Linked DNA regions of Homo sapiens: regions 1, 2 and 4 are each linked to region 3. The links are contacts of gene promoters, found by promoter capture Hi-C in blood cells and fetal thymus (Javierre and others, 2016). All regions are on one chromosome and are shown on one strand. Each heading gives the region's core, a stretch centred on a gene start or on the middle of the fragment in contact. The rest is flanking DNA. Distances are from core to core; before and after follow the strand shown. Region 1 overlaps UBE2E1 (ubiquitin conjugating enzyme E2 E1). Region 2 holds the start of UBE2E2 (ubiquitin conjugating enzyme E2 E2). Region 3 holds the start of SGO1 (shugoshin 1). Region 4 has its middle 7.4 kb from the start of RPL15.

Evidence for each region. The method cuts DNA at HindIII sites, captures the fragments that hold promoters and counts their contacts. A CHiCAGO score of 5 or more calls a contact.
Region 1: a fragment that was not itself captured here is called in contact with the fragment with the promoter of SGO1 in region 3 in 6 of 17 cell types (non-activated CD4 T cells, naive CD8 T cells, naive CD4 T cells and 3 more); the score reaches 17.8 in non-activated CD4 T cells.
Region 2: the fragment with the promoter of UBE2E2 here is called in contact with the fragment with the promoter of SGO1 in region 3 in 3 of 17 cell types (erythroblasts, fetal thymus and non-activated CD4 T cells); the score reaches 6.6 in erythroblasts.
Region 4: a fragment that was not itself captured here is called in contact with the fragment with the promoter of SGO1 in region 3 in 2 of 17 cell types (non-activated CD4 T cells and naive CD8 T cells); the score reaches 8.2 in non-activated CD4 T cells.

What each region holds. Positions count from the first base shown.
Region 1 is chr3:23,807,190-23,814,034 of GRCh38, forward strand. UBE2E1 (ubiquitin conjugating enzyme E2 E1) reads left to right here. Exons shown (of 6, transcript NM_003341.5): 2 at 48-232; 3 at 4,271-4,321. The coding sequence starts at 81. Among named protein-coding and RNA genes, the nearest start is that of UBE2E1-AS1, 3.7 kb to the left of the region's middle. RefSeq lists enhancers at 192-281, 2,874-2,933 and a silencer at 3,404-3,723. The HindIII fragment of the contact is 658 bases long and covers 2,425-3,082 here.
Region 2 is chr3:23,200,228-23,206,916 of GRCh38, forward strand. UBE2E2 (ubiquitin conjugating enzyme E2 E2) reads left to right here and starts at 3,100. Exons shown (of 6, transcript NM_152653.4): 1 at 3,100-3,237. It overlaps UBE2E2-DT (UBE2E2 divergent transcript), which reads right to left and starts at 2,766. Exons shown (of 2, transcript NR_136176.1): 1 at 2,637-2,766. RefSeq lists enhancers at 1,773-2,748, 2,161-2,220 and a silencer at 2,571-3,260. The HindIII fragment of the contact is 2,247 bases long and covers 2,402-4,648 here.
Region 3 is chr3:20,184,422-20,190,912 of GRCh38, forward strand. SGO1 (shugoshin 1) reads right to left here and starts at 1,785. Exons shown (of 8, transcript NM_001199251.3): 1 at 1,527-1,785. It overlaps SGO1-AS1 (SGO1 antisense RNA 1), which reads left to right. Exons shown (of 4, transcript NR_132785.1): 4 at 1,554-1,694. RefSeq lists enhancers at 1,503-2,182, 2,203-2,262. The HindIII fragment of the contact is 754 bases long and covers 1,309-2,062 here.
Region 4 is chr3:23,921,269-23,927,725 of GRCh38, forward strand. It overlaps a transcript of NKIRAS1 not described here and a transcript of RPL15 not described here. Among named protein-coding and RNA genes, the nearest start is that of RPL15, 7.4 kb to the left of the region's middle. The HindIII fragment of the contact is 3,602 bases long and covers 180-3,781 here.

The sequences.
Region 1 (6,845 bases), core at 1,504-4,003, 3.6 Mb after region 3:
TGGCTGCATGGTTTGTGTGTTTCTGTTTTGTTTCTCTCCCCCTGCAGGGGCTGTTTGCGGGGTGGGGTGGGGGGTTCGCTATGTCGGATGACGATTCGAGGGCCAGCACCAGCTCCTCCTCATCTTCGTCTTCCAACCAGCAAACCGAGAAAGAAACAAACACCCCCAAGAAGAAGGAGAGTAAAGTCAGCATGAGCAAAAACTCCAAACTCCTCTCCACCAGCGCCAAGAGGTACTGTGCTCTTTTTTTTTTCCACAGGCTTCCTATTTCCGAACTGCCTCTTGCTGCATTTGGTCTGCCTCCCAATGAGGATAGCTTAAACGCTCCTCATGGTTTATGTGTTCTTAAAAATGAAAGAAGGGCCTTGGAAGCCCTAATTATTTTCTCTATTGCTGCTTCTGTTTTTAAATCATTGCTCACATGCAGCTGTTGCGGCTTGCCTCTCGCATTTCTTGCTGAAGTTTGTAAGATTCCTCGTTACTTTTATTAGTGACCCCCAAATCTGATTTCAGATTTCTTGTCCTACTAATGGTTAATCTGTGACCTTCCCCAAGGCCATGATCCCATTTCTTAATTACTAATACCAGCCCAGAGAACTGCATCAAAATGAATTCTGTGACCATTTTACCTTCTCCTCACCTGTTGCATGGATGATCTTTTCTAAATAGAGCTTTCTTCACAAATTGCATAAGGAATAAGAAACTCATATTAGCAGGTACAAAATTTAGTAGGTGAAGACAGATGTTTTCTGGTGGAATTTAAAGAGATTTTTCTGAGAGTTGAGGCAAATGAATGAATCAGTAAGTGACTATAAAATGGTTATTCTAGGTTATTTTTGTGGTTCTCTTTAAAAACTTCAGTTTACCAATTTCAGGGAGACTTGTCTTTTTTTCATGCTATTTGCTGTCCTCATGCTGTGAAAATGTTACTTTGCCTTATTTTTTCAATTTAAGTGGTCTCCCTTTTACTTTATTCTTTTCCTCTTAAGGCCCTGAAGGTAGCTACTTTTTATCCCTGCCATCCTAAGCGGTCACCCTTTTTCTTTATTCTTTTCCTCTTAAGCCTCTGGAGGTAGCTACTTTTTACCCCTGCCATCCTTCAGTAATATCCTCTGATCGCCATGACCCTCAAAATCATCTTTAGTGGATTCCTAGGAGCTCTGAGACACCCTTTCATAAATCCTTCTGCTCTCAGAGTTAGGCAGTTGTTAAAAAGGTGGCAAACCAGGAAGATAGTAAGAACTCCAAATGATGGGATAGGGATACCCTTCTTAAAAATTTTTAAAATAAAGTAGAACATGAGACTTTAGATCTCTCCACTGAGTAGTGAGCCTGGAAGTCAGGGTTTGAGAGTTTGTTCTGTCATTCTCCCTGACTTGTAATTTGAAAACTTGGCAGTGTTTTGGTGACCTAACCATGGGCTGATGAAGGAGTGACTTTTAAAAAATAGTGTGGAGGTCTTAAGTGGCAAGGTGCCTCTGCAAGATTGTTCTCATTTTTATAGGTTTGGTTTGATTGTACAGCTTCTCAGGAGGCCTGACTGACCCTCACTGATTAGCCCTGTGCGGTTTTCCTGGAACCTGACATCTACTCTGCCCACTTGGGACGGGCCCTTCCTTAATACTGCGCCCCACCTCAATCCTCTAGGCTCTCTGATCCTCATTCACGTTTTGGCCTCACGTGCTCAAGCCAGGATACTTGCTTTTGGTAATTTGCATTTTTATATTTTGCTAGATATCCCTGGTGTACATGAATATATTTGGGGGTAAAGACACAGGTATCAAATAGAAAATACTCTGCTTTTGTTGTGAGTGAATTACAGAGAGGGGGATTTTTTTCACTAGACATACTTTGTTTATTTTAAACAAGTTAAGAATTTATTTGGAAGTTCTGGAAAAGAGATGATAGGTGTAGAAAAATGAAAGGTGGGAAGCTACAAATAGTAATTTTACCTATAAATTAACATCAGGGCTTTTGTTTTGTTTTTGCAATGAATTTAGCTCCTTGATAATCTTGCTGAAAGAGTAGCTATTAGTGTTAAAGCAGACCTAAAGTTAATAGAAAAAGGTAAAAAAATGGAGAGGGACAGTGTATCCAGGAAAGAGAATGGGGAAAATTGATGTTAGTGGGACCCTATAGAGGCTGTTCTGTGAAGTATATTGATTTGGAAGGTAGGTGTTGCCCATAGAATTGGAAGGGGCACATTCACCAGGAGTAGGAGTGAAAAAGAAGCCTGAATTGGCAGACTAACAGGCTGCTAACTGCATGTTGGAAAGTGGTTTCTAAACCGTGGGTAGAGGAAAGCCCCCATTGCAAGTGGTCTGAACAAGAATGACTCTCTGGAAATAGGTATGAGTTACTCCTGCAAATCTCTTGCCAGTTTTTTGGAAATGCAAATGCTGTCTGTCAAGATGAAGTTGATAAAGCTTTTTGGTATTAACGCTTCTTAGGTATTAAAGAAACAACTACCTTTTTTTGTGACTATTTTATAGTGGGAGTTGGGTTGGCAAGGAGGACTGAAGTCAATATGTATTTTTATATGCGTTGTGCTCCGGGGAGGAAATTTTTGCCTACGTGTGTAGGTCTTAAAATACAGTTATTTGAAAAGATTCAGGTAAAGAATCAGGAAACCAATTTTCCAAACTTTGAGTCTAATGTACAGTCATGAGTCAAACAGCGGGAGTATGAATGTCTCAGAAATGAAACGCTTTTTGATAGTAGAATTTAGCAGGACACAAATACGTGTCAATTGAGATTGTGAACAAACCCCTTTCTAAAGTTGACAGATACGTAGGGACAGGAAATGTCCTCCAGTAGGAAGGTTTATAGAACCTCCCCCAGTCGTCGTCCTTAAAACCTGTTCCTCATTACATATAGCTCGTCCGTCCTCCTACCCGCAGAAAACCTTTGGAAAGGAAAACGTATCCTTTGTGAATTAGATTGCTCTGTGTGTGTGTTTAAAATTTTTTTAACTACAGTGCTGCCTCGGTGAGATTTTTAAGTTGTAACATAGCCCCATTGGGCTTTATATGATAGGAGGAGGAAAGGTTATAAAATTAGGCACCGTTTAGAAGGTGGAAGAAGCTTAGAGGCCCTAAACTGTCGTATTAATTGATGCTCTAAGTGCCTAGGTAAGCAAAAGACAAAGGCCAGGGCTTGGTGTGAACTGCCTGGTGGCTTCGGCCTATGAGTGGGGGATGGGGCCCTTTGTGAAGTCGAGGGTTGGTGCGGAGGGAGAAAACTGCAGGTCTCCAGTCTATCCCCAGTGTGAGCTAGAGAGCGGACCATGAAGGAAGTGGGCAGACCCCGGGAAGTTAGAGGACGCCCGGGGAAAAGCAGGTCCGGGGAGGTGGGCCGAGAGTCCCGGCCAGCGTGCGGGGCGGAGGCAGGGTCCGGTGCACCTGTGCGGCCGCGGGCCGGCCACTTGGGGTCTGTGGTGCCCGAGTGGCGGGCGGGGGTGTTCGCGCCCTGCTTTCGCGCGCGGTCTCGGGCCAAGGTTCTGGGCGCCGGGAGAGGAGAGCTGGGGCGGCGCGGAGCAGCCCCCGTGCGGGCACCCTGTTCCCCTCCCCCGCCCGCAACTTCACCGGCGCGGCGCGAGCCGTCGGGGGCGCGCGCGGGGTGGGGGCGGCGTGGCCGGGCGGTGGCAGCCCACCGCTGGGGAGCGACCTGCGGTCTGGGCCTCCCGGGCACCCCGCCACGGCTGGCAGGTCACTCGGGCCCGAGGGGCCTCGTGGGGAGCGGCCATGTTGGCTTCGTCACTGAGGACTCCGGGCGGGTCGGGTGTTGAGCGAGGCCTCGGACCTTCGGCCTGTCGGGGGCGCCCTGCCGGGGTGGGCATGGGGGCATCTGAGGGGTGAAAGGGGCAAGGGAGGCTGGAGGCTGGCGTCCTTCCCACGCACCGATGGCTGTGATCTCTCCGTGCTGGGGAGAGGTGCAGGGGAGGGACTGAGGAAACCGGTCGGCAAGTGAGAAACTTTAAAATTAGGTCCTACATGGAAAACACCGAGGAATAGAACTGCCCTGGTGTGCGAGGCAAGGTTGGAAGCCAAACTTTGCAGATGAGAACAGGAGATTCCAGGCTGCCTCACTTCCTCCGTGAAAAGTTTTTTTCCTAAACTAGGGACCTGAAGTTCTTGATGTGTAGTTCCTCTTTGCCCAGTAGAATCCAGTGATCGCGCTTAGGTTTATCTGCAGACCTGCACGCTACAGGTGGGAGGCTTCCGCGCCTTAATGCTTCTTGTGTTTGTCTTTCCCATTTCTCCCACTCCAGAATTCAGAAGGAGCTGGCGGACATCACTTTAGACCCTCCACCTAATTGCAGGTGAGTTGCTTTTCGGATTTTTTCCATTTTTAAAATTCTTCTAACCTTTGTCTTGGGTTTTTCTTTTTATTATATACTTTTTCTTTGATTCTTTGGCTAATGCTTGTTATGGCACTAACATCACGTAACAGCTGAAATTTATTAACCTGAGTATAATGTTTTGATGAGCCTCTGACAAGCTCAGTACTGTTGAGAAGAAGTAATGGATTTATTTGGAGTGGATTTTTACATATATGAAACAAAACTAAAGTAAATTTAAAGGTGTCTCCTTGCCTAATCATGGGTCTTTGATATGCCATTAAAGATGATGTAAAACCTTTCAGATGCGAAGGACATTTTGGTTTGGAAAACTGCTTTGCTACAGTAATCTCTTATTCAATCTCTGCTAAGCTAAGAGAACATTAGAGTTAAACACTGGATCTTCAAACTTACTCCATAGCATATAGATTTTTTATTAGACTTTTGGCAGAGCAATTCAGGAAACAATTTCTGGCTTTGATAAAGGTTTTCTTTTAAATTGTAGAGTTAAACTTTCATGGGGTGTTTTTTTCACTTGCTTTATTCAGACTGTATACATATGTGTGTTTCAGTTTCAAAACAAATTGAAACCAGCTTTCTAAGGGTTTGTTGATCACAGCTTTATTTAGAGAAGCCATTTTGCTACTGTTGAGTCAAGGTGGAAGACTTGATGACTTTACTAGATCAACAATGAAGTGAGGGTAACTTACAACTATGTATTAGAATAGAACCATTTATTTAAGGGAGGTCCTGTAACTCCCATACTTTAAAAATTAAGTATAACATTTAACCTAGTTCTCAAGATCGGCGTTGGAAAGGGATGTGAGATTTCAGAAATACTCTAAACTTATTGGTAGGAGTAGAAGTTACTGACAAAGTATTCAGCGGCTATACACAATTTTTAAGATGAGTGTGTGGGAATAGGTTGAAAAGCTAAATGAAGTATTTTGTTTAGTAACAGTGAACTTTGGAAACTAATTAGTGGATTAAATACAAAACTATTGCCGTTTTGGTTACATTCATTCTTAATGTTGATTAGGTGTGGGATGCTCTTCCGTGAAACTTTGTCCTGTTTTGTAAGGAAAGTCATTTTGAGTTTGAAATGCTCTTAAACTATAGTTTATAATTGGAACACTTAATCATTCTGGGGAATTCTTTCCTGGCTAATAATCTCTCAAGATGGTTGAGAAGTGGAAAAACCATAAGACTTAGGCCTAACTCATTATTTTGATGGTGGTGGTTCACGTGGAAGCCTGTAGCTTCCCTTGGTTGTTTGTGTGGAATCCATGTACATTCCCCAAGGTGGTTCTGTGCTGTCTAGTTATTGCTCCTGCTTGGTATTGTGTGTCTCCTATGTGTGTGTTATTAATAACATTGATTAAAACATATAATGGCTTTCTTGTGAATAAGCACAGTCAAATCTAAAATTGTAAACCATTTGAAGATTTTCATGGGATTAAGCATTTAAAAAAAAAAAACAGTGTAAGTACACTTCAGTTTCACATCGTTTTAACTGAGTTTATGTGTGAAAGATTTATGCTCCTGAGGCATGTGGAACTTTTTTATCTTTGGGAAACCCTCCCAATTACCCCTTCAAGGTGAAACGTTTGGGAATTACCTGTGGTCAGGGGATGCACCAAACTGGGTGGCTGTTGGGTGATTGGTGTTACGGAGTCAAAGCTCAAAATACTAAATTTTAAGAAAAATCTCTGATTTGAGAGAAAATACGAGGCATCTTCATTTTGCAAGAGAATGTATATTACATTGTCTTTTAACAATAAAGATGACTTTATTTTCTGAAGATATTTTCCAGTGGGGCCGTTTGAGTAATGTGAATTAAAATTTTTACTTTTGGTTGGCTAATGGTGCTGTCTTAATGTTATATAGTAGTCCCAATATTCAGCTCTCTTAAAAGAGTTCGGTTTTACGTTTTGTGCTGTTACCTTTTGGAATTTAATTATTTAGTATTTTAATGTACTTTATTGGAGATAAAGATGGATTATTTATTTATTTATTTATTTATTTTCTTTTTGAGACGGAGTCTTGCTCTGTAGCCCAGGCTGGAGTGCAGTGGCATGATTTCGGCTCATTGCAACCTCCACCTCCCGGGTCCTGGTTCAAGCAATTCTCCTGCCTCCTGAGTAGCTGGGATTATAGGCACGTGCCACCATGCCCAGCTAATTTTTGTATTTTGGGTAGAGATGGGGTTTCACCATGTTGGCCAGGCAGGTCTTGAACTCCTGACCTTGTGATCTGCCCGCCTTGGCCTCCCAAAGTGCTGGGGTTACGGGCGTGAGCCACTGCACCTGGCCTTGGGGATACTTTTTGAAGTCAGCGTCCAATGAAAATCTATGAATTAAGTGATATATTAAGTGCGTACATGTTTAAAATTACCCTCAGCATGAAAGCATGAGATTTGAATGAGTTAAATAATTGGTTTTCAATTAGTCTGTCTTATATTTTTACCCTTTGCCATACTTCCTTTCTTCAGTCAGCATTCAGTGTG
Region 2 (6,689 bases), core at 1,850-4,349, 3.0 Mb after region 3:
GAGTTTCAATTTTCCTACACCACTGTTGCCCTTAAGTATCCAAAACATTCGGGGTGACTACAGCCTCCTTCAAGCCAGACAGTATGCAACAGATCATTGTTTTCTATCCCATTCTTTGGAAAACCTGAGCTAATATGATGTTTCTTTCAAAGGGTATAATATAAATATGTAATAACCCCTGATAATTGGGTGCCTAACAAGAACAGAAGTTGCCTAAATAAGTAGCAGGGCTCTACCAGTATAATGCTTCTGCTCAAATTCAGCCCAGTTCCCCTGAGAGAGGTCTTTTCTATCACCCATCCAGTCAAACTGGAAAACTAACTGTGGCTCTACTTACTCACGAAGTTGGCAGTAACAACGTTTTAAGAAGGACCCTTCAAAAAACATTCCAATTTGCCAGTTGCAGGGGGAAAAAACGTAGGCTCTAAATTAATGATCAGAAATAAGAAATGTAAGAAAGGAGTGAGTTCATGACGACAGACTGATGGACCAGAGCAGAAAATATAAGGAAGATGAGCTATTTGTCTTGGAGACCAAGTTTGCACCGCAGAAGAGAGAAATAGAGAAAATCAAATAAATATTTATGTCTGTAACACCAGACTCATGGTAAAGTGTCCTTAAGTTCACAGACTCCAGAGCCAAACTGCTGATTTCGAGTCCCAGCTCTGCTCCTCACTAGCTATGTGACTGTAGGTGAGTGACTTAATCCCTCCGTACCTCAGTATTCTCATCTGTACAGTGGGGCTGATTGGATAAAACCAACCTGTGTGGTGGTTGTGACCTAGTATAACTAAAGTGCTTAGCATGCTGCCTAGCACAAATTAAGAACACGGTAAGTACTAATTATTGAAGAAATTAGAAACAATACCTATTGTGTCATCAACTGAAAGAGACCAATTTCTTTCACTCGGTCATTATCTATTGAATATATACAGCACTGAACCCCAGACGACGAAATCCTTTTTCTCAAGGTGCTTTTACGTGGGAGGGCTGGGAGAGGGAGGAAAAAGAAAGCAGAAGGGGGAAACTAATAAATAAGTAAAAAAATGTATTATGTCAGGTGGTGATCATGGAGAAAAAGCAGAGGATGTGGATAGGAAGTTCTGGGGGAGGAGTGGGAGGAAAGAATGTTCTAGAGATAGGAAATAGTAAGTACACAGGTCTTGAGGCTGAGGAATGCTTGGTGTGTCCATAACTGCAAGGCCGGTGTGGCTGGAAGGAGACGAGGATGGAGTGAAATCGTACAGCTTGAGGTCAGGGGAATCCTGGCTGGGAATGGTGGGCACATCATGCAGGCCATGTATCCATATTTTGCACTTTGGCTGTTGCTCTATGATGGGAAGCCACTGGAATTTTTGAGAAGAAGAGAGACATAATCTAATCTTTGTTTTAAAGGACAGTCGGCTGTGTGTAGGTGTTGGGGAGGGAGGAGGCGGAGAGTGGGAGGTAGAAAGATCAGGTAGGAGATAATTATTGAGAGATGATGCCTTAGACCAGGACATTAGCAGTGGGGAGGGGAGTGAGACGGAGTGGACATTTTCACCATATATTTGTGAAAACAGAGTCAACAGAATTTGCTGACGAATGTGATGCTGAGTGTACAACAGAGAAGGTTCAGACATAGGGAAGTTCTGAGGACAAGGATTTTTTTCTTTTATTCAATGTCATATATCTACCACCTAGACAGTGCCTGGTATCAATAAATATTCCTTGAATAAATGAAAAGGGTAACTGATTTGTATTAAACCCATTTTGAACTTAGTAAATAGCAGTTAAAACATCTACAGTCAAATGAAGTACTGTAGCAACCATAATTTCAGCAATTAAGCAGTGAAAGATCTTCCAATCCTTTCCTCCACAAAGATAGAAGTTAATTTTGCTGCATCCCTGGACACCCCGTTGCCAACGACCCAGCATTCCGTTGGTAAGTGAGGCTGGAGGTTGGAGTGGGAGAAATTTCGTGGAAGCTAAGTTCGCAAAGCAGGTACGTTTTTTTTTTTTTTTTAAACGGTTATTTGGGATGAGGAGTACAACGGAACCTAATGTTCCCTCATGCCACCTACAGCACTGCTACTGTTCCCATATCCTTCAACTGGGCATGAAGGCAGCTTCCCACTCACTCTGACAGTGGTGCACCCTGTACCCCCACCCCTCTCTTCAATACCCCAGGGCTAAACGGCCCGAAGCTCCTCTCTACCGGCTGGTGCGCATTCTGGGCCAGGGCGAGCCAAAAGGCAGAAGGGCCTTCGTGCTGCAGTGTCTGGTGAAGACTCAGGCTTAGCCTGGAAGAAGTTTCCAGGCCAACGTGAAGTTTTCCTGTCTTGGGTACATGCGAGCCCCACGCGTCTGCGAGTTTGGGTTAGTGTGTCAACAGGGTCAGTCCCCGTATCTACTTTGCGAAAGCTTCGAGGCGAGCGTGAAGTCAAGGGCTGCGGTGGATGGGGGTAAAAGGCCTCCTCGTCCCACTGCCTGCACCGTCTTGGGGTAACCCCTAACCCCCAGCCGGCGTTTCCCTTTAATGCGCGTGCCCGGCAAGGTCCTCGCGTCCCCTCCCCTCAAGCCACCCCGTCAGCCTCGGTTTCCCCCACTTCTCCCCGTCCTTGTCGTTCCTTCCCCGTGGGACGCCCCTCGCTCACCCCCGTCAGAGCCCAGTCTGCGCGCGGGACCCAGCTGTCACTTTACTTTTCCTCGCCGCCTCCCCACCCCCTCTCCCGACCGGCGGGGCAGCCCGCCCGGGCGCGCTCCCGCCCCCGCCCCCTCGCGGCCGCGCGCCGGAGGAGGAGGGGCGGGGGGAGGAGGGAGGCGCGCGGCGCCGCATGGCCGACGTGGGGCTCGCGCTCTCGCGGTCTCTCCCGGGCGGGCGCGCAGGCACGCGCACTCGCGGGTGCGCGCGCGGACGGCCGGGCGGCGGCGGCTCCCGGAGGTGGTGGCTTCACTTTCCAGGACTCAGGGGCAGCCACAGCGACAGCCGCGGGCAGCAGCCTCAGGAGCCGGAGCTGGAACGGCCGGGGGCGGCGGCAGCGGCGGCGCTGAGGGTGAGTCCGGGCGGGCGCGAGCGCGGCGGGGACAGGCGTGGTCGGGTGCGTGGTGCGTGGGTCCGGCTTTCGGTGACTAGACGGTCCGCAGGGGACATCCCGTCCCTGGGGCCTCCCCAGTCTCCCTCCCCCTCGCGCCTGGGCAGCTCTCTCCCAGGGCTTCGGCTCGAGCCTGCGACCTGCACGGACACCCCCCCCTCAGGTATTCGCTCGGGCCGCGCCGGTGCCTCCCCTCCTCGGGCGTCCTCCCTCTCGCTGACGTCCTCCTCACTCCCCCGACCTCCCCTCCGCGTCGCAGGTCTCTGCTTACACCGCTCGTGCCCTAGTTCCCTCCTTCCTCGCTCCCCGTGCCCGGTTCCCTACGCCCCCTCCCGCGAGCCTCCTGCCCCCGTTTCTCGCCCTTTCTACCCCTCCCCCTTCTTCCCATCCCCCCCTTCTGCCTCTTCTCTCCCTGTCCTCCTTCTACCCCCTTCCGTTCTCAGTTCCCCATCCTTCTCAACCCTCCCAGCGCTTTCCTTCTCCTAGCCGCATCCTGGAACTAAGTCTTTTCAAAAGTACAGGATAAATGTCACGGTGGAAAGTGCCCGGCTTGATCTTTTGCTATTTTCCCTAATTGCATAATTGCTGCACATGGTGTGTCTCCTGGCGAGTGCCGGGTTTGGCTCCTTCGCCGCCGCACCCCGGTGGCCCGCCCGGAGAAGACCTTGTGGGGTATATTTGTGTGTGTCCTGGTGAGGGGTGTGTGTTGTATTGGTCTTTTGTGATGCCTGGCGCTTGTCACAGTTTGGAACCGAAGCCCATTTTTCTCTGGTCTCTTCTCTGCAGCCCCCACTGGCCTGGTTTGAAACTGGATTCCCTCTGTCCTCTCCCCCTTCCCGCCCACCCCACTTCTCCCCCTCTTTTCTCCGATCTCTCTCATAATGTTTTGATCTTTTTGCCCTTTACCATTTCTAATGAAGATAAAGCGTGGCTTCTTGTGGCTTTTTTCCCCCACGACCAACCAGAAATGTCCAATCCATCTTCCCTTAAGGAAATTAAGGCTGCTTTAGAAAGACATCATCCTGTGCTCGGTGGCTGTTAGACCCATTTGCATGTTTTCAAGATTCATCGTTTTGTATTGTGTATTCTTGAGAGTCTACTAAAATATTTTTATTTAAAAGTACGAAAGGAAGTGCTAGGGTTTACCCTCAAAGTATCTCGCGGTTCTAAAGGATTTTACGCTCTTCTTAGTTTTTAATCCCTGATTTCTTTAAAAAGTATGTTTCTAGATATGTGATAATTCAGTCTGGACTTTGTGAATCTAAATATTTGCCTTTACTACGGCAATTTGGATGCTCCTTGGCTCTTTGGAATTCTGTATGTGGGCTGACGCTGAAATAGAGTGTTTTCATATAATGCCATACCCCATTCTCTTTCCCCTGCAGCACCTTTTACCCCCAAATCAGGTGTTCCACTGTTATTTTCTGCATAAATGTCTTTGCAGTTAAATTTAAAGCTGGATATTGCTGTGTGCATATACTATATATTTATTTTACATTTTAGAAAAGTTTAGAAACATGAGTAGGAAGACAGCAAGACATATATGACAGAATTAAACGCTTTCCTGTTATAAAAGCTTAAATGAACACTTGGTTTTGCAGTTTTATACTAGTAGATACTGTTATAAGGCTTACCTGGGTAGTAGGCTGGATTTATGGAATGACTATAGTTGCCTTTATGTAGTCAGTAATATTTCAAGCCAAATCATTTCATTTTTATGGAACATGTGAGTTTCATTCACTGTATGTTGCTAATTTCCAGGACTGTAATTACAACATAGGGTACATAGCTAATACAAGCTTAGACAGTTTGTGTTGAAGAAGTAACAATATGTAAGCCTCTTAATATAGTTTTAGGAAGGACTACTTATTTTATGGTTAAAAATTAAATTTTACTTTGAGTTATGAAGTAAGCGTATTTATCTCTCTCAATATCTTTGAAAGTATCATTGGAGAGTAGCTGTTTGTTTATAACCCTGGGATTTAAGTTTATCTTCCCTGTAGATGAGATAATCGGATCAGATTAGCTATTTAGGAATTAATTTTAAAATGCTAATTTAGAAGATAATGTTTAAAGGATTTTAATTCAGGAATTTTTATTCATTTGTACTTCAGAGAGACAAGACATCAAGTTTACACTTACGACTAATTAAATTGATTCATAGACTACTTTTTCTTCATAAAAATTCGTTGCACCTGAGTGGTACAATAATTTTTTTCTATACTTTTTCTGTAATCAAGCATTCAAAAAACAAACCCAGGAGAAATTCCTTTTATTATTGATATTTGAAAAAGAGATGTGAAAACTTTATTTCTAAAAGTTCCTATAGTGGTTATCAATGGCCTCAGATGGACTTATCATTTGTAGGTTAACATTTGGATGAAATATGTCTTAACTCAAAAGTGGGAATAATTCTTTTCCTTAATGTGAAACCAGAAATTACACCTCTGTTGGGGAATTTCTAATAGTATTTTTATTAGTTCTCTGGTGAGACTAATTTTTATTTTAATCTTCCTCTAATATTCGGCAGTAGAAATTTGAGTTTCAGATTATGGCTCAGATCACATCATTGAGTAATCTTTTTAAGTAATTATATAACTATGGCATTCGATAGTATGTAAATGCACATAAATAAGAATATTGAGAAGAATGTGTGGCTTTATAACTAATGTTATACACAACTGAAACTCTCAGCATAGTTTATTAAATCATAGTTTATTACGCTGAAGCTGCATCCTCAGTATAGAGAATATTATTTCATTGAGGTACCCATATATTTGTCATGGAATGGATTGCTCCTGTTTTAAAATGTATAAAATGATTTCTCACTCATTTCACATTTCTTAAGGTATTGCTGGCAGCATTTTGCTATATCTGAGCACCTTTCCCTGAGGATTGTTCTCTTTTTCACTCTCATGCATGCCGCCCTATCTGATATGCCATTATGTACATACTTACAAGATTTTAAACTTCTGATATATTTTAACTGAAAGAAGGTGAAAAAAAATATTAAATCCAAGAATGAGAATTTAGAGTGAAATAAAAATGAAAAAAAGCAAGAAATATGTTACGACTTTTAGAGCTAGATGTGAAACATACTGATATAAAATTTCAGTGTTCTATTAAGTGACTTTAGTGCTCATAAAAGATGTCACAGCTGTGGAGACTGGTGCTCTTCATTTACAGAATAGGTAGAAAAGTAGTCAGCTTTTCCGTTAGTATGTTTCAGAGCTGTTGGGGCAGATCTGTTTCTGTTTGGCATGGGGAGCTGTTGGGGTTGAAGGGGTGCTGGTGGTGGTGTGTGTGGTGTGTCAGTGAAAGGATTCACTATTTTCTGTTGACTCTTTGTGGCTCTGTGCTTCCTGATGCTTCCATTCTTTTGCAGTGCTTTTTGGTTTGTCTTACAAAAATTTCAGTCCATTAAAGATCGGTGTTACAACATTGCTTTGGCTTAGAGCAAGCTACAAGTTAAATCTTTAGTGATGATGAATTTTCATCAGTGTCAAATAGCTATCCATTTGGACTAAGTTATAGTAATTAAAAAATTTTGCTTTATTTGAGGTATCTTTACCTGTTCTTATTCTTGATCATATCAGAAACAGTTTTATTTCAAGT
Region 3 (6,491 bases), core at 535-3,034:
GCTTAAGCTTACAGCATTAGTTCTGAGGCAATTATATATTTGGGTTTTGTTTTCCAGCTCTTCTCTAATGATTAATTCATCAGATTAGGTCATTCAACTATTTTTCCATACTCTTTAAACGCAATTATCACTTATGATATGCACACAGTCTCAAGAAAGTCAAGGTACTCCTTAGAGGTTTAAACTATGTAGCACTACATACAATTTTAATAGGCTATTGTAACAAGTACAGAGCTAGAGCAGGAACTTGGGCAGAGGAACACTCTAGTATTCTCAAACTGTGGCTAAAAGTTAGGGCTGTTAACTCCCAGTAAATTATGAACATAACAAATCAGACATTAAATATTGTTGTACATACAGTTAAACGTTGAGTATTAAATACATAACTATACTTAATCTTTCAACGTTGCAAATCAGGTAGGCTTTAGCATGCTACTAAACATGTCAAACCACTTTTCACAAACATCTTTTACGCTAGATTGCACTTTGCAGATCTTAAAATTGCAAAAAAAAAAGACTTGTTTCCAATAACAATCTATGCACAGAATTTTCACTACAAAGGATATCTTCATCTCCTCTACGATAGTCAAATATTTTCCTAAACCTTACACTTAATCTTGAGTATTTCCTCCAGGCCTTATTTTCCTCTATGCAGTGTCTGGAATCTTAAATATAGGTATTGTAGATACCACTTAAGAACTTTCTTTCTACCAAGGTATATACAATATGTACTGGGAGGTTCCTAGCAGAGATAGGGTAGCTATTTTTAAAAGCACGAACGGTAAAGGGGTTGTTTTACACAATTAAGTTAGAATTGGAGATGTTTGAGAGTCATACAGATTAAGTAACGGATCTAGTTTAGTTAAGGTATTTTAAAGGCAAAGCCTTACCTAAAAAGCTTTCGTTATTACTTTTAATCAAGTTAAAAATCACAAAAGAAACTTGCCATATCAAAAGTTTTATATCCTGTCTAAATAAGGCGATGGTTATTAGCAGGGGGTGTGGTAGACAGAAGGGATGAAAGCAAAGACAGACCACAGCGCGAGATGACGGTCTCAATCTGTACAGTACTCGTGTAAGCGCTCTGGATTTAAAGAACCTAGCATATTTGATCTCCGTCCATAATTCTCCAATTAGTCCTGCTGCGAAGACAGCCAGGTAGGATACTAGTCAGTGCCGGCCTCTCCAGGGTAAGTGAGGAAGAGAATGGCCTGGACAAGGAGGACGTCAACGGTATCACGCTGCACAAAGAACTGCTGTCAATTTTCTTGTGTCCTTACGTTGAGCCAGGCTTTTAGCTATTGTAAAAGCTTTATTTGCACATCACTTAATCTACACAATTTTGCAAAGTAGGAAATTAGGGTCTCCATGGAAGCCGGAACATCTGAAAGCGCAGATCGAGTGGCTGAACGGCGAAAAGCGCGGCGAGTGGGACTCCACGGCCCGAGCTTTCGGCCACCGAATTTAGAATGATACTGAAAACCGAAGGGAAGTCAAACAGGGATCACTACGCCCTTGTTTCGCACCTTAAAACCTACTTCTTCCTCTTTCAGGGACTCCAGGAAGGCCGGGGGGAGGTGGGGCTGGCGGAAGTGGACGCGGCGACCCTCCTGCCGCAGGCGCGTCCAGAACGATACCTTGGCCACTACTTCTGCAACAGCTATCTTCCTCCTCCTCACATTTCAAGGCTCTTCGAAGCTCTCCAGCCACGGCTAGCCCCGCGCACTGGGCCCTCCAGGACCGTACCACCGTCCGCCGTCGCCTGGAACTACCGCCGCCACATTCGAAATTTTCCGCCTCGCTCCTCCATTGGTTGGCTGGGAGGCGGTCACGTGGCGCAGGATGCACCCAACACCACCGTCGCAGGCAGAGTCCCGCCCCGCCAGGCGACGTCACGTGACGCACATTCGCTCAAGTCCACATCCGGGCATCCACCTGGCCCTGGGGCGGAGCCTGCGGTCGGGTCTCGGCGACCCGCCGGGACTTTCTAATCAGAGTCGTGGGGATTTTACGGGTGGAGTTACTCCGAAACCTTTAAGGCCGAGTGTGATAGGTAGTTCAAAGCTTCCTGTTTCTTCAGTCTGACAGCTTCAAATGTCCCGGGTTGTGCTCAAAGCCTCCCTCTTGTGAGAAGAATCTCTTTGGTTGCCTGTTAAAGCGGTCAGCCAGCTTGCAACACGGAAGCAGCTTTTAGAGGAATTAAAACCAAAACAAGGAGCAAATTCTGGATTAAAAAGGTATTAGGGAAACTGCAGATACCTGAAAATTCTAGCTCCATGTTTCTCTTTGCCGGCTATCTCTGGCTCTTTAACTCTTCTCGAGAAATGGCACCAACATCCATCCAGTTACCGACTAGAAGCCTGAGAAATCGTCCTTAATGATTATTTATCCTCTCTTAACCTTTGCCCGTCCAGTCGGTCACACGATCTTCTCAACTCTGCTTTCCAAGTTTCTCTCATGCCCATCTTTTTCCCCCCAATCCAGCTTCCAGCCTAATCTCATTCCCTAAATTGCACTAGTACCCACTCTGACCGCAGACTCCACTCCCTATATTCTTCATAGATTAATATTTTTACAAAACAAGTATCAAATAGGAAACTTTACAATGGCTCCCTATTGCATTTAAGGTGAATTTCAAACTCCTTTAAGATATTTTGTCCTTAAAGAGCCCCATGATTCCTGGTTCCATCACTTGTACATTTTCTTTAATTTTCTTAAAATTCTTGCCACTTTTGCCAATGCTGTTCTGTCAAGAACACTCTTTCCCTTGGCCGAACTTACTCCTATGTATACTGAAGTTTCACTGTACAGATGAATTCTTCCAGAAAGACTTATCTACCCCTAAAGCCCCTGAGTGTCTGCTTTACACTTTCTTAGTGCCCTGCATTTTCCCCTTGGTATTCCTTGTGACACTGACTTGTCGTTCATTGCCTGTTTCTTGAAGTTGAATAAGGGCAGGAACTACATCTGCTTTGTTCATAGCTAAATTGTCAGCATCTCGTTGCAATTTGAAGTAAGTAGTAAATATTCACTGGGACAATAAAGGAACAAATAAATGAAAACGAAACAAATGTTTTGAATCTAGGCATTCTTTATGAAGGTGTGTTGTTGTTTTTTAAAGGTAGCTAACACATGCTTGCTCTAGTCTGGGTACCCATCCTGGCTTGAGTGGAAGAGGCTGAAACACCCTTCTCCAGCCAACAACTCCCTCGTTTTCCAAGTTAACCAGACCAACTCCATTAACCCTCAGTTTACTGCCACTGGGCAATGTGGCTTATATGTGTAGAAGCATCAAGAAGGAATGGGCAGAGAGGTTTTTTGTTGTTTGAGGTCAGAAAATTATGAAGTGGAACATGAGAGCAGAGAATAGGGCCAGCTTCATGAGCAGGCAACCGGTGCTTAGAAGGGCTGTACATTTGGTTTAATGCTCTGCTGTTGCCGTCTTGAAATGCTTAGGAGTTTATATTTGAACTTATGTTTTGTAAGTGATGTCTGATGAGACAATGGAGCAATCTTGTGAGCAGATGTGATTCATGCAATGTGTGTGTCTGTCACTGTTTCTTGCCCCATGTCATACAATGTTCAGGATGCGCACTAAATGGCCTCCATGAACCACTTATTTTGTAGTTAGGGACCTAAGTACAAAGTGCTCAGAAGGGCTCACCCTTGCCCTCTTGAAATTATTATTATTTTCTTTGAGACGGAGTTTTGCTGTGTCTCCCAGGTTGGAGTGCAGTGACATCATCTTAGCTCACTGCAACCTCTGCCTCCCAGGTTCAAGCAGTTCTCCTGCCTCAGCCTCCCAGGTAGCTGGGATTACAGGGACCCACCACTACGCCCCCTAATTTTTGTATTTTTTTGTAGAGACAGAGTTTTGCCATGTTGCCTAGGCTGGTCTCAAACTCCTGAGCTCAAGTGATCTGTCTGCCTCAGCCTTCCAAACTGGGATTACAGGCTAAGCCATCATGCCCAACCACGTTACTATATTTTCTAACCACTTACACTAAAAGTGATGGCATGAAAGGAAAAGGAAAGATAAGACATTCCACAATTCCTTTTCTTTTCAGTCTTTCTCTACTTATCGGTAAGCTGAAGGTTTTTGTCTTGGATTTTGAACAAGGAGCATCATATTTTCATTTCACATTGACCCACACAGATTATATAGCTGGCCCTGACCAAAGGCTTTGAGGTTCTGACTTTTTGAGGGGTGTCTTCCCCGTTCCCAATTTAAAAATGGGTCAGACTTCAAATCAGGTGTTTATTATAGAGCCCTAAAGAATAGAAATGGCTGAATTTAGGGGCAGTGAGGGAAAATACCACCAGAGTCCTAGCATGAGTAACTTTTGTACATCAAAATGTTCTACTGCCGCTGATTTTAGGGAACTGAATTACTGTTGGAATCAATAGCTCTTTTAAAATTTTGTGGAAACTACAACTCTTCCCAGGAAGAATGCACATATTCCTTTTTGAACAAAAATATGCATATTTCAAAGAGTACTAAATGGTGGACTGGAGTTTGAACCCAGGAAGCCTGGCTCCAAAGTCCATGCTATTAACAGCTGGACTATGTTCTGCGACTTCTCCCTTTTGTTATATCACAGTTGTACCCAGCCTAATTCAGAGATAATCCATGGTTTAATTATATCGCAAAGTACAGTGTAGGAACACATCATCTAGCTGACAAACTGAGAAGAACCTATGAAAGGGTAACCAATTAGTGAAAATTCTTTGTTTAATTTAATAGATGTTTAGAATAGTTATGGTATAATTCAAATCATTTTAACTTCTTAAAAAGCTTGCTCTCAAATGATAGTGAATATTTGTAGCTGCATTACTTTCAAGGTTTTTCAAAATGTGAATGCATGTTATTTCTACTTTCATTGGTTTTAACTTTATGATGTATTTAAAATATAATGAGCACTCACATTCTCCCCTGCAAGTTCCTAAAATCCCAATAAAACTGCTTGTTACTAATCTTTAACTGCCTTGTTCCTAACATTTATTACTATGTGCAGATTTTATGATTTTTATTTACGGAGCTGAAGTCCTGCACAGACTTGATATCTTCTTCTGATTTCTTCTTGGTGGTGGTGGTTGTTTTCTGACAGGGTTTGTCACTCTGCTGCCCAGGCTGGAGGGTAGTGGTGCGATCATGGCTTGCTGCAGCCTCAACTTCCCAGGCTCAAGTGATCCTACCACCTCAGCCTTCTGAGTAGCTGGGACCATAGGCATGCATTGCTATGTCCAGCTAATTAAAAAAAAAAAATCTGTAGAGACAGGGTCTTGCTATTTTGCCTGGGCTTGTCTCGAACTCTTGGGCTCAAACCACTCTCCTGCCTTGGCGTCCCAAAGTGCTGGGATTACAGGCATGAACCACCATGCTTGGACTTCTCCTGAATTTTTATCAATATTATTATTTTGTATTTTATTATTTCTTTCTGGTTCATGTTCTCTTGTGATCTCCTTATTTTTAAAGAAAAAAATTAAACTCCTCTCTGTTTATTTGACAATCAAAAATATATTAATGTGTCTCCTCTCTGGAATTAATATTTTAAAAAAATTTTTTGAGAAAGTTTAATACAATAGTTATCATGGAATGTGGTGCGGATTAACTTGAATAGCAATACAAAAATTAGTAATTTGGTGACCAAAATTTTCAAAACTGAAATACAGCAAGGCATCAAAATGTTTTGTGACTGTATTTTTTTGACGTCTGCTTTTATTAGTTTAGTACTTTCTTCAGCTCAATAGTGACAGGCTTTGGAGAGTTTGTACATGCATAAAGTGGGCAGAAGACTACAAGGAATAGATAGCACTTTATGCTGTTTTTATGTTTCATTTGTGTTTTTCAGAAATATGCATATGTATTGCTTTCATAAGGCTATTATTTATTGTATAGTGGAATTCATGTCTTTTTTTTTTTTTTTTTTTTTAGTGGTTCCCATTTCTCTTAGCATAGCGAGACATGTGAACAATTAGTTGAATTATAACAGCTAACACTGAATGAGGGCATACTTTCTGCCAGGAAAATACTAGTGCTTTATATGAATTAACTCATTTTATCCTTGTGATAAAGCTTATAAACCTATTTTTTCAGATGAAGAAATAGAGGCGTAATGTGGTGAATCTAGTAAGCATGAAGCCAGGTACAAGCTTTGCTGTCAATCTGACTCCAGGGCCTGTGTCCTTAATCATGATACTATATACTTTAAATACATTTACATTTATTGATGTTGCTTTGACCTTTGTCAAATCATTCAAATGTCTAAAGGCCTACCACATACAGATGTGAGGAAGTCTTTGTGATGGCTAATGTGAGTGTAAGTCCCAGAGGAAAAGGGATACATACACACATACCAGAGTTATGTCATTTTTGTTAAGGCTTTATGCTAGAAACACAAATTATTGATGCTATGTTATTTTGTTGCTAATTTTGGTTTTGTGTCATGTGCTGATATCATGAACCAGTAAACACTTATGGATCATTAAAA
Region 4 (6,457 bases), core at 731-3,230, 3.7 Mb after region 3:
GGATCCTATTAAATTGATCATGGCACTCCCGTGCAAAAAAATCAAAAGTCCTCATGATAGCTTTCATGATCTTCCCACTTTATGTGTGACCTCATGTCCTACTGCAGTCCACACCCCAGGCTCCTTGCTGTTTGTTCTTCAAATACACCAAACACTTCCTAATGCCTTTATGATGGGAAAGCTTTACTCCAATATTAAGGGTCACTTTATTAGCTATACCCTGACCGCCCCACAAGCTGTTCCCATTTGCTTTACTATTTCTATATTGGCATGTAATTCACACAGCAACATTGATTATTGAGTTTTTTTTTTTTTTTTTTTTTTTCCAGATGGAGTCTCACTCTCACTCAGGTGGGAGTGCAGTGGGGCAATCACGGCTCACTGCAACCTCTGTCTCCCGGGTTTGAGCAATTCTTCTGCCTCGGCCTCCCAAATAGCCAGGACTACAGGCGCACACTGCCATGCCCAGCTAAGTTTTGTATTTTTAGTAGAGACTGGGTTTCACTATGTTGGCCAGGCTGGTCTCGAACTCCTGACCTCAAGTGATCCACCTGCCTTGGCCTCCCAAAGTGCTGGGATTACAGGCGTGAGCCACCACCCCCAGCCCAATTTTTATTTTTTGTACAGACAGGATCTCACTATGTTGCCCAGGTTGGTCTCAAACTACTGGCCTCAAGCAATCCTGCCTTGGCCTCCCAAAGTGCTGGAATTATAGGAATGAGCCACCACACCGGGCCCAAATTTACTTTAGTAATAACAACAATTGGCTGGGTGCGGTGGCTCACGCCTGCAATCCCAACACTTTCGGTAACCAAGGTGGGCTTGAGCTCATGAGTTAGAGAGCAGCCTGAGCAACGTGGTGAGAGCCCATCTCACAAAAAATAACAAATCAGCTGGGCATGGTGTTGCACGCCTGTAGTCTCCGAAATCACACCACTGCACTCCCATCTTGGGTGATAGAGCCAGAACTTGTCTCAAAAATAACAATTGGTTTCTTACAATCCCAAAAGGTGCAGTTACTAGTATTAATCCTTTTTTGCCAATGAGGAAACACAAAGATGAAGCAACTTGCTCAAAGTCATACAGTGACAGTCTGAATTCAAATCCTATACACTTAAAGTTTATTTGTTTTGTTTTGGTTTTTTTTGAGATGGAGTCTCACTGTGTCGCAAGGCTGGAGTGCAGTGGCACGATCTCAGCTCACTGCAACCCGGGTTCAAGCGATTCTCCTGCCTCAGCCTCCCGAGTAGCTGGGACTACAGGCACGCACCACCACACCCAGCTAATTTTTGTATTTTTAGTAGAGACGGTTTCACCATGTTGGCCAGGATGGTCTCGAGCTCCTGACCTCAGGTGATCCTCCCGCCTTGGCCTCCCAAAGTGCCGGGATTACAGGTGTCAGCCACTGCACGTGGCCAACTTAAAGTTTTTGATAGATAATACATTAACGTTAAAAATTCAAAAGATAAGTATAGGCTCTACAGTACAAACCCTTCTGCCTCCTAGTTCCTCTCCCTGGAGGCAAGGTGATCAGTTTAACAATATTTTTTTATTTTGAGACAGGGTCTCACTGTTGCCCAGGCTGGAGTGTAGTGGCGCGTTCACAACTTACTGTAGCCTCAACCTCCTGGCTCAAGCAATCCTCCCACCTCAGCCTGTCGAGTAGCTGGAACCACAGGTGCACACCACCATGCCAGGCTAATTTTTGTATTTTTTGTAGAGACAGGGTTTCACCATGTTGTTCAGGCTGGTCTCAAAGTCCTGGGCTCAAGCAATCTTCCTGTCTCTGCTTCCCAAAGTGCTGGGATTACAGATGTGGGCCACGGTGCCTGGCCTACATATGTATTTTTTCCTTTTCTTCCCCAAGTGGTAGGATATGATACACATTGTTGATTTTTTTGTTTAGTTATGTATCTCAGAGCTTATTCTTTATCAGCTCATGAGGAACTTCATTTTTTTTTTTTTTTTTGAGATGTAGTTTTGCTCTTATAGCCCAGGTTGGAGTACAGTAACACAATCTTGGCTCGCAGCAACTTCTGCCTCCCAGGTTCAAGCGATTCTCCTGCCTCAGCCTCCGAGTAGCTAGGATTACAGGTGCCTGCCACTACATCCAGCTATTTTTGTATTTTCAGTAGAGACGGGGTTTCACCATTTTGGCCAAGCTGGTCTCGAACTCCTGACCTCAGGTGATCCGCCCATCTCAGCCTCCCAAAGTAGTGGGATTACAGGCATGAGCAACCGTGCCCGGCTGGAACTTCATTCTTTTGGTATAACTGCATGGTATCCCATCATGTGGATGTACCATGATTCATTGGATGTGGACCCTCCTGATGGACATTTAAATTTCTTCCAATCTGTTGCTATTACAAAAAGAAAAATGTGTGCATACATCTTTATTCATCTGTAGAATAAATTCTTAGAAGTAGAATGGCAGAGTTAAAAATTGTATGTATATAATTTTTTATAGATATTGCCAAATTGTCTTCCATAAAAGTTGAACCAATTTTCACTACCACCAGCAAAGTAGGAGAGGACTTGTTTATCCACACCCTCTTTAATGTATGTAATCAAATTTTGGGATATCTGCCAGTCTGTTAGGGGGAAATGATACTCTTCTCTACTTTTATTTTGCATTCTGAGTGTGGCAGAGGCAAAGCTATGTGCATACCATAGCTTTTTCTCCCCCTGAAAACACAACTAAACTACATTGTTTTCCTGGCCTCTCATGCATTTAGGTTGGGGTCATATTACTTCCCTCCAAGAAAAACAACAGTTGGTATGCCTCCTCCACACTTCCCACAACTGTGGAAGCCAGTGATCCAGATAGCATAGCTATTAATACAAGATGGGTGAAAGCTGCTCAACCGCATCAGACAGCATGAGTGGTAAGATTTTATTGTGTCAAACGACTGCATTAGTTGTGTTTTGTTATTATGGCAGCATAGCCTAGCTTAGCCCTAACTAATTCAATAAATAAAGTTGAGCATTATTTGTACATTTAAAAGCGTTTTTTATGTTTGCTTTACAGTGGCTTTCCACTTTTCTATCAGAGAATCCCCCCTCCCTTATGTACCATGCTATATTAATAAATTGGAAGGAGCTGCTAGCTCATTTCTCCTATGCTTCATAATTTTTCTGCTCATGAGATTCTTATTTTTTGAGACGAGTCTCTGTCACCCAGGCTGGAGTACAGTAGCACGATCTCAGCTCACTGCAACCTCCACCTTCTGGGTTCAAGTGATTTTCATGCCTCAGCCTCCCAAGTAGCTGGGATTACAGGTGTGCGCCACTACTAATTTTTTTGTACTTTTAGTAGAGGCGGGTTTGCACCATGTTTGCCAGGCTGGTCTATTACCCCTGATCTCAGGTGATCTGCGCCCGTCTTGGCCTCCCAAAGTGCTGGGATTACAGGAATAAGCCACCAAGCCTGGCCCTGCTCATAAGATTCTTGAAGGTAACTTTATGTAGAATAAATTCTTCAAATTTCAACTGTTCATTTTCGCCTTTCAATTCTAAGTTCTGATTTCATCTTTAAGTTCTGAAATTCCTAAACCAAATTAGTAGCTATATTGTATCAGGCAGACTAAATGAGGCAACAGTAATAGCCTCCAAATTTCAGTGGCTTAAAATAATAAAGATTTGTTTCTTGATCATACTTCATGTATGTTAAAGATTGTTCTCACTCTAGAATCCAGACTGTTAGAACAGACACTATCTGGAACATTGCGAGGTGTCCATGGCAGAGGGCAAAGAGCATGGCGTAGAACACCCTAACCTGTAAAGCTTCTGCTCAGGTTGTCCCATGGCTACTCCTGGGTTCAAAGGGTGGGGAAGTGATATCTTCCAGTGCTTGGAAGGAGAGAGAGAATCAAATATTTGTGAACAGCTCTAATGTCTACCACATACACTAATCCATTTCGTTTCTCTTTAGTCTTTGTACCCATTTGAAGTATTATGGAAAACAGCTAGTATACCAAGGAGAAAGCAGGAACCAGCGCAGTCCACACTGGTAGAGAGAGTATTTTGTCACTGACATTGCTTAGCATTGCCAGAATATGATGATGTTGAAAAAGAACATACTGAGACTGGGCTTGGTGGCTCACACCTGTAATCCTAGCACATTGGAAGGCCGAGGCAGGCGGATTGCTTGAGCTCAGGAGTTTGAGACCAGCCTGGGCAAGATGGCGAAACCCGTCTCTATTAAAAATACAAAAAATTAGCTGGGCACAGTGGCATGCGCCTGTGGTTCCAGCTACTCAGGAGGCTAAGGTGGGAGAATCACCTGAGCTTGGGAAGTTGAAGCTGCGGTGAGCCAAGACTGCGCCACTGCACTTCAGCCTGGTTGACAGAGTAAGACTCTGTCTCAAAAAAATAAATAAATAAATAAATAAATGTACTTTTACTCAGTTTTTGTTGTTTTACAATTCTCCTACAGACAATGCATTCCCTTATTGAGTTAATTCATTTGGTAAAATATGGTTATCTGCATACAACTCTGCAACCAATTCATTTGACACTTTATTATGTGATAGCTTCCTTGCTGTATACCCACAAATATTCACTGAAAAATACTTTAGCTGTATGCTTTTCAATATGATAGCCACTAGCCATCTGTGACTTTTAAAATTTAAATAGGATTTAAAAGTCAGTTCTCCAGTCATATTAGTTACATTTCAAATGCTCAGTGGGCACATTGGCTACCACGTTGGACAGCACAGAAAATATTTTGACCATCACAGAAATTTCTGTTGTATAGTGCCAATTTATTTATTTTTATTTTTATTTATTTATTTATTTTTTGAGACAGCGTCTTGCTCTGTCGCCCAGGCTGGAGTGCAGTGGCACAATCTTGGCTCACTGTAACCTCTGCCTCCCAGGTTCAAGCAATTCTCCCTGCCTCAGCCTCCCAAGTAGCTGGGATTACAGGCACCCGCCACCACGCCCAGCTAATTTTTGTGTTTTTAGTAGAGACAGGGTTTCGCCGTGTTGGCCAGGCTGGTCTCAAACGCCTGACCTTAGGTGATCCACCTGCCTTGGACTCCCAAAGTGCTGGGATTATAGGTATGAGCCATGGCGCCCGGCCATAGTACTGACTTAGACCCTTGAAATTCTTCTTTATTTCTTCTTCTTTCTTCTTCCTCCTCCTCCTTCCTCCTCCTCCTCTTGCTCCTCGTCCTCCTCTTCTCTCTTTTTTCTCTTCTTCCTCTTTCTCTCCTTCTCTTTCCTCTTCCTCTTCTTCCTCTTCTTTTTTTTTGTGTCATTCTCTAGTAGATGAAGATGAGGCATATGAAGTCTAGTTTTACCGTAAAAAGTTTGATGTATAGATTTCATATGAGAATAGTATTTGTTGCTATAGATATTTTAATTGTATAATTACCACTTCCTTTGTCAGGGCGATTTTAGGTTTTTAGAAGTTTTTGATAAGAGTTTTATCCCAATGGTACAAACTGTAGAAGAATGAACTGCTACAACACCTTTTCTAAGAAAAAAGGTTTTGGTCGAAAAAGACCTTTAGTTTTCCATTTGCTGCAATTTGGCTGCATCTTTTGCCAAACTGTTGGACCTTTGAAATCAGTTTTATAAATATTCATCATTCAGAGAAGAAACAATTCTTTGGATTTGTCCTAGAAGGATCAAGCTGGCCTGAAATACCAATAGGGGGTGACATGCACCAACAAGCTACACTTTGACCATCAGCTGCCCCAAACAGGATGAAATCCATGTCGCAGTTTTTAACCAAGCAACACTCTCCACAGCCCCAACATCATTCCAGTTCAGCCTTGGGAAGGCTGACTAGACATTTAGCTTCTCCATCGATTTTAGTTATTCTTATTAATGATGCAGTGAACATCATCACTATACATATAGTTTTCAACCTATTTTTATATAAGAAAAATAAACTGAAAATAAAGCCTTTTAGTATAAAATGCTGCTCAAGTTTTCTTTAGAAAAAGAAGAATCTGCTGCAAGGCTGAGTGCAGTGGCTCACGTCTGTAATCCCAGCACTTTGGGAGGCCAAGGTGGGAGGATCCCTTGAGGCCAGGAGTTCGAGACCAGTCCAGTCAACATAGTGAGGCCCCCATCTCTATATTTCTTAGTTGAGGAAAGAAAAAAAAACCTACTGCGAAGGTGCTATAGTTGGCTTGTGACATTAAACCTCATAATCAAAGCATTCAAACTTAACGAAATGCTGTAGCTGGAATGCACACTTCAGCTCACTCTGAAATCCTGGCAAACGGCAACTCACTCCTCCAAAACTGATGAAAGCATTTGATTTAATTGGCATGCTGTGAACATCTGAACTCATTTATTGGCAATTCTCATTGTCATTTGGAGAGAAGTTCATTATTTGGCAGTCCTAGTTAGTTAGAGACATTAACTGATGGATGATGTAATTATCAGTCATCAAATCACGAAACTTGTTTCTATGAGAGTGTAAACATACTATTTAGCTTCC